Linked DNA regions of Homo sapiens: region 1 is linked to region 2. The links are contacts of gene promoters, found by promoter capture Hi-C in human tissues and cell types (Jung and others, 2019). All regions are on one chromosome and are shown on one strand. Each heading gives the region's core, a stretch centred on a gene start or on the middle of the fragment in contact. The rest is flanking DNA. Distances are from core to core; before and after follow the strand shown. Region 1 overlaps SMIM31 (small integral membrane protein 31). Region 2 holds the start of TRIM60 (tripartite motif containing 60).

Region 1 (3,758 bases), core at 460-2,959, 270 kb before region 2:
TACATTAAGAATATTAGTCCGCAATTTACTTTTGTTATTGTTTTTGTAATGTCTGCCAGTTTTGGATATCAGAACTAATCCAGGCCTCATAAAATGATTAGGAATTATTTCCTCTGCCTCTATTTTCTGATTTTATGTAAACTTTTTTTTCCTTAAGTGTTTGATAGAATGCACTCATCTTGTGAGAGCTCCTCACAATCTTTCCATGGAAAAGGAGACTGCTAATAATAATAGCTATCATTTTGTGAGGTCCTACAATGTATCAGTTACTTTATTTGGTATGTTACATATGTTAATTTAATCCTCACAACAACCCTGAGAATAGATATTATTCTTATGTCAAAAATACAAAAACTATATCTGTAAGTGCCAGGGGCTAGAATCAGGTATGACTCGAATGGGTAAGCTTTTTCCATTTAACTAAACTCCCTATCAAATTTATTTTTATAGTGACCTAAAGATATCCCTATCAATGAGGTATCATTCCACCAGGCAAATCTGTATCCACTTCATTAGATCTTCATTCATTCATTCATTCATTCACTGAATCATATTGGTAAATACTAATTGAGCTCCTCCTGGCTAAATATCTAGCCAGGTACTATTCCAAGCACTGTTCTAGGCTCAGCAAACAAAACACACAAAAATCCTCGCCCTCATGAAGCTTAAATTCTATTATACTAAACAATAAATACAATAAATAAGTAAAGATTAGAAGGTAATAATTGCTTTGCAAAAATATAACAAAGCAGGCTAAGGAGACTGCGGGGAGTTCCAACTTTTAATATGAGGGTGAGAGTAGACCACACTGAGAAAGTAACACCTCTGAGCAAAGGCTTGAAGGAGGTAAGAGGGTAAGCCATTCAGGTCTCCAGAGAAGCGCATTCCAGGTAAAGAGAATAGCCAGTACAAAGGCCCTCTGGTGGAAATATGCCTGGAGTGAAGGAGCAAAAGCCAGGAGGATAGTGCACCTAGAATGGAGGAAATGACGGGGAGGAAAGTAGGAGAGAAAGTCAGAGACAAAGCAGGACCAGATAATTTAGGGTCTTCCAACAGGACATTTGCAAGGATACTGGCTTTTAATCTGAGTGAAATAGGAGCCATAATAGAGTGTTGACTAGATAGGCAATGTAGTATGCCTTACAATCTTAAAATGCTGTCTTAAGGGTAGAAAGAAAAGCAAAGGGAGACATTGAGAGATCAGTTAAGACCCTATTTCATTAAACCTTGTGAGTAGTAGTGCTTCAAATCAGGGTGGTTGCAATGGAAGTGGTGGGATTCTGAATGTATGTTGAAGATAAAGCCAATAGGGGCCAGGCCTGGTGGCTCATGCTTGTAATCCCAGCACTTTGGGAGGCCAAGGCGGGTGGATCACTTGAGGTCAGGAGTTCAAGACCAGCCTGGCCAACATGGTGAAACCCCAACTCTACTAAAAAAAAAAAAAATACAAACATGAGCCAGGTGTGGTGGTGGGCGCCTGTAATCCTAGCTATTCAGGAGGCTGAGGTGGGAGGATCACTGGAACCTGGAAAGTGGAGGTTGCAGTGAGCTGAGATAACGCCACTATGCTCCAGCCTGGACAGAAGAGTGAGACTCCACCTAAAAAAAAAAAAAAAAAAAAAAAGATAAAGCCAATAGGATTTCTTGAAAGAAGAGGATATGAACTGTGAAAGAAAGATAGGAGTCAAGGATGACTTTGAGGATTTTATCCTGAACAACTAGAAACATGGAGCTACTGTCAATGAAAAGGGAAATAAAGGGGGTGAGACAAAGAAGGAATTCTGTTTTAAACACATTAAGTTTGAGAAATAGTATGTACAAGTCCAAGGATGCATGAGATCTTTGTCCAGTGAAATCTCTTAAGTTTCTTGAAGTTTAGAAATATTACATATTTTCTCAAAGCCAATTGCCCATCTATGATAAATATTTTATTGCCATTCTAAGCCAAAGAATTAAATGCTTTGGTTATTCTTCCCATTTTGAAACCAACCATATTTTCAAATATAGTAGTATTTGAGTGTGAATTTTTCATTTAAAAGAAAATCACAGGATTTACTAATAATTTATCTTTATGCCATAGCATAACTTTATCAGGGAAATAGTCTTTCTACTATGAAGAAGTAAATCAACAATTTAAGAATTCTAGGAAACAAATAGAACAATTTTCTTGAATTGATTTTTATTCTTTACATAATCATCTTAATTCTATTACTGAGTCATTCATCCTTATCTTAAAAAAATTCATAAATCACCTTTGAACCTTGGCGAGGTAGTTACAGTTTCTGCCCTTTGAAACCTAGCAAAATAGAAATTACAACACTGTTTCACATTATAAAAGAAGCCATAGTCAATTCCTCATGCCTACAGTAGAGTCTGTAGTTGCAAAGAGTTGGGTCAATTCTACTGTCCAGCAGCCCAGTGGCCCACCATCATAGTTATACCTGGATTGCAACAGGTAATCTCCACCCTGTTCATAAGACTCAGTTTAATAAGGTCTCTGGCTGGGCACTGTGGCTCACGCCTGCAATCCCAGCACTTTGGGAGGCCAAAGAGGGTGTCTCACGAGGTCAGGAGTTCAAGACCAGCCTGGCCAAGATGGTGAAACCCCATCTCTACTAAAAATACAAAAAAAAAAAATTAGCCAGGTGTGGTGGCTAGTGCCTGTAATCCCATCTACTCAGGAGGCTGAGACAGAGAAGTGCTTGAACCCGGGAAGGGGAGGTTGAAGTGAGCCGAGATCCTGCCACTGCACTCTAGCCTGGGCGACAGAGCAAGACTCCACCTCAAATAAATAAATAAATAAATAAATAAATAAATAAATAAATAATCAGGTCTCTGATGCTTTGCGTTGCCTCCCACTTCCAGAGCTCCTGCTAGCTCAGCCAATGTCGGCAGGAGGGAGGAGAAACGTGAAAGAGTCACCTCACCTCTCCACATGCCACCACCCCCAAAGCTCACACAGAGCTCACTCTACAGGGTCTAGTGGTTGTGAAATGGGAAACTGCTTGCAACTTTAAATAGGAACTTTGGGGTGTGAAGCTTATGACTGAAAGGGGACTATAAATATATCTTCCTTTAAATGGATAACAAGCATGGGCAAAAACAGAATAATCTCTGCAAAATTTTAGGGATTCTAAAGACTGGAGATATACCTAACATCAACAGAAAGTCAAGGAATTGGGAATAAGGTATAATGTTCTAAGTAAAGCCTTCTTCTATTTTAACAAATACCTAATTCAACCAAGATGACTGAATAAATGTTTAATTCAATCAAATGATTGAAAGTATTCAATATCTGGCCAGGCGTGGTGGCTCACACCTATAATCCCAGCACTTCGGGAAGCCGAGGCAGGCAGATTACTTGAGGTCAAGAGTTTAAGACCAGCCTGGGCAACAGGGTGAAACCCCATCTCTACTAAAAATACTAAAATATATATATATTTTGAACCCAGGAAGCAGAGGTTGCGGTGAACCAAGATCGCACCACTGCACTCCAGTCTGGGCAACAGAGTAAGACTCTGTCTCAAAAAAAAAAAAAAAAAAAAAGAAAAAGAAAAAGAAAAAGAAAGAAAGTGTTCAGTATCTAATCAGAGCGCACAATGCTGCTATAAAACAATGTACAGAACACTTGCTTATATTCAGTGCACACTTCATCTATCATATTGAAAGCATCGGAGCTACACAGTTGTGGGTGAGTTTATGTGATTCCACTCTGCCTAGAAGAATGAAACGCTTTGAAGAACATGCAAAGGGGAAAA
Region 2 (3,906 bases), core at 442-2,941:
CACCCGCCCAGCCTTTGGTTTAATTTTATGGTGGAATCTGGCCCCATTCAGCCTTAAGCCTTTAGAGTTTCCTTTCCTTCATCCCATTGGTCAGACTCCAGATCAGTGTCCTCCCAACCACAGCCTTTATCATCCTCTCTGTTTGCATCTTCTGCACTAAGGTGTGAAGATTTGAAGATTTCACTTATTGTTCCCTGTTCCTACTTCCCACTCTTCCATCAAATCTCAGACTTCATCACAAGAGGGTATTTTTCTGGGAAGGTAGCTCTAAGTTATTTTATTTATTTATTTTTTATTTTTATTTTGAGACTGAGTCTCACTCTATTGCCCAGGCTGGAGTGCAGTGACCCGATCTTGGCTCACTGCAACCTCCGCCTCCCGGGTCCAAGCTCTTCTCCTGCCTCAGCCTCCCGAGTAGCTGGGATTACAGGCATGCACCACCATGCCCGGCTAATTTTTTGTATTTTTAGAGAGACGGGGTTTTGCCACTTTAGCCAGGTTGGTCTCGAACTCCCGACCTCAGCTGATCCGCCCGCCTTGGCCTCCCAAAGTGCTGGGATTGCATGTGTGAACCACCGCGCCTGGCCAAGTAGCCCTACATTTTAAACAGAAAAGTGCGCCGGCCAGGCGCGATGGCTCACGCCTGTAATCCCAGCACTTTGGGAGGCCGAGACGGGTGGATCACGAGGTCAGGAGATCGAGACCATCCTGGCTAACAGAGTGAAACCCCGTCTCTACTAAAAAATAGAAAAAATTAGCTGGGCGTGGTGTCGGGCGCCTGTAGTCCTAGCCACTCGGGGGGCTGAGGCAGGAGAACAGCGTGAACCCGGGAGGCAGAGCTTGCAGTGAGCCGAGATCGTGCCACTGCACTCCAGCCTGGGCAACACAGCGAGACTCCGTCTCAAAAATAAATAAATAAATAAAAAAGTGCTATGCCGATTCTATGACTTCTTCTGCAAATATTAGCCTCTTTCACTGTCTCATTTACCAAGTTATAAGACTTAAGAGGCTCCTCACAAGGACTAATCCTTCAGCCTTGAAGATTTTACCGTCAAGTTTGTCCAACAAACTCATACTCGTCCCTTAAAATCTACTTTAAATATCAATTCCTCAGACGAGACCTTGGTGAGTCTTAGTTGGTAGGGTGGGGCCTAATCTCCAGGGTGGTAACTACGCAGCCTCTCAACCAGAGACGCAAACTGATCCAAAGAGCTGATTATTCCTCTTGCATTTTAAAACTAACCACCCTGGCCGGGCGCGGTGGCTCACAGCGAGGCAGGCGGATCGCTTGAGCCCATGAGTTCGAGACCAGCCCGGGGAACGTGGCGAAACCCAGTCTCCACCAAAAAATACAACAATCAGCTGGGCGTGGTGGCGCGCGCCTGTGAAGTGGGAGGATCGTTTGAGCCCGGATGGTCGAGACTACAGTGAGCCGAGACCGCACCAGACCCTGTCTCAAAAAAAAAGAAAAAAAAAAAGTTGCTCATAGGAATGAAAAATCTGAAAAGATTGCCATTGTGATTTAAATGACCCACTGAAGCCATCAGGGACCCCACCACGGAGGGAACCGCCCTAGGCTCTCCTCAGAATCTTCTCACGCTCCCTGCACCCTGCGGCATTGAGCATGCTCAGGCCTTTCCCGCCCACTTCCGGTGGAGCAGCCAACCACCGCGCTGGTCAATTGTATGCCTAAAACTCGAAAACCAAGGCGCCCAGGGTTGTGTGAGGGTTTCCGCTCTGCGCCCCGCGGGGTTCCATGGGTCCTGCACAGCATCAGGCCTGAGCCGCCGGTCCAACTGCTCCAGGTAAGCTGGGAGGGCCGCAGGAAAGGCGCAGTAGGGCCTGGCGGGAGGCTTACTTAACTGGGCAGGGGCTTCCTGAGTATCAGCTGTGCCCAAACCTCGGGGTCGCGACCTGTCCACGACTGAGCTCAGACTGTGGATCCTTTTTTTTGTTTCTGAGACGGAGTCTCGCTCTGTCACCCACGCTGGAGTGCAGTGGCGCAATCTCGCCTCACTGCAACCTCCGCCTCCCGGATTCAAGCGATTCTCCTGTCTCAGCCTCCTGAGTAGCTGGGATTACAGGCGCTCGCCACCACACCCAGCTAATTTTTGTATTTTTAGTAGAGACGAGGTTTCTCCATGTTGGCCAGGCTGGTGTCGAACTTCCGACCTCAGGTGGTCCGCCCGCCTCGGCCTTCCAAAGTGCTGGGGTTACAGGCGTGAGCCACCGTGCTCGGCCGGATTCTGTTTTCGCCGCGGAGGCAGTGGGACCCCGATGATTGAACTTTAAAGAAGATTCTGATCTGAACACCAGTTTGGGAAGTGGCCACGTGATCTCCAAAAATTATGGTGGGAGCGTTAAGGAAGGACCTCCCACCCTACAGCGCCAGCACTTCTCTGGCGGATTTTGTCTCCTTCCGTCCTCACAAGGATCTGGCTGTCAGGAAACTGCTACGGATGAGAAAGTTTAGGCTCACTTACGTTTCGTATCATCTAAAGTAATAGAGGTTGAATCTTGAGATCTGGGAATCTCCCACAGGTTTGATTTATATTCACTGAGCCCACACTATGAACCAGCACAAGAATCAGAGTAGGAGCCAGGCGCGGTGGCTCACACCTGTAACCCCATGAGGAGGCCGATGCGGGAGGATCGCTTGAACCCAGGAGTTCTAGCTCACGCTCGTGCCTGGGCAACATAGTGAGACCCCTGTCTCTACAAAAAAAAAAAAAAAAATCCGGGCATGGTGGGGCGTGCCTGTGGTCCCAGCTACTCGGGAGGCTGAGGTGCGAGGATCGCTTGAGCCTGGAGGCAGAGGTTGCAGTGAATGGAGATCGCGCCACTGCACTCCAGCCTTGGCGACAGAGTGAGATCCTGTCTCAAAAAGTAAAATAAATAAGGTAATAGAGGTTGAATTTTTCTTTTTTAATGTGACAAGATCTCAAGCAGTAGAGGTTGAATTTTGAGAGTAGGGAATCTACTGCAGGTTTGATTTATTAGCCTAATAATTATTGAACACACGTTGTACACCAGCATAAGAATCAGAGTTGGTAATTCAGTTGTGAGGAAAATAAGGAAGAATTCAGACCGTGAACTGTACTCTCCAGTGTCCTTAACCAAAGGTTGACAAAAATAAATGTAAAAATCTCAACTGTAATCTGCAGTATGATAGATATGTGGAGTCAGGAAAAGAGTAAAGTCCAGATGTTGGTGAGTCTTGTAATACTTAAGAGTAAGAAAAGCCATTCCATTGGAAATCGGAAGGTTATAGGATTAGATCTGTGTTTGGAAACTATAGAGTTATGGAATTGATTGACGGGATAGAGCATGTCAAAAATAAAGCCAGACACTGGGTAGTCATAAGGACAGATTTTAATCAGTACTGTACTATTGCAATAGGGAGAATTCAGCATGAACAGAACTCAACTGTGATTTGTACAGAGGTGACCAAGTGCTTCAAAGGGGAACTGGGGAATGAAGGTAGTGAGTTGGCGCTCAGTAGAGTCAGGGAAGTGAAAAATTACAAAAAGTGGGAAAGGGGTGGTTGGGTCATGTGAAACACACCCAGGTTTGCTCACTGGCACTTAAGGAAGTCAGGCCCCAACTCTCCCATAGATGCTGGGAGACAGGGGCCTTGTCTTCAGGTATCAGAAGATAGTTACTATAGTAGGCTAATGTTTATAGCTTGGACTGAGAAGAGTGGCTTATAATGCTGTTCTTTAAACTTCATTGCCTGAGTCTGGAAGATGGGTTAGGGGAAGCTGGAGTGTGTGGGGAAGGACGAACCATTGAGTTCCAGGATCTATGCAGGAATGTTCCCTGCACCTTTTTATTTTAAATGAAATACACTTTTTTTTTTTTTTTAAGATGACTCTCACTCTGTCGCCCAGGATGGAGTGCAGTGGC

What was found. Contacts are between HindIII fragments. The study calls those that stand out against the background at their distance.
Region 1: a contact is called between a fragment that was not itself captured here and the fragment with the promoter of TRIM60 in region 2, in 2 of the 25 tissues and cell types used here (H1 embryonic stem cells and hippocampus).

The regions. Positions count from the first base shown.
Region 1 is chr4:164,759,138-164,762,895 of GRCh38, forward strand. The region is part of intron 1 of SMIM31 (small integral membrane protein 31); the gene reads left to right. Among named protein-coding and RNA genes, the nearest start is that of SMIM31, 6.9 kb to the left of the region's middle. The HindIII fragment of the contact is 4,152 bases long and covers 1-3,758 here.
Region 2 is chr4:165,030,308-165,034,213 of GRCh38, forward strand. TRIM60 (tripartite motif containing 60) reads left to right here and starts at 1,692. Exons shown (of 3, transcript NM_152620.3): 1 at 1,692-1,805. RefSeq lists an enhancer at 1,194-1,850. The HindIII fragment of the contact is 10,604 bases long and covers 1-3,906 here.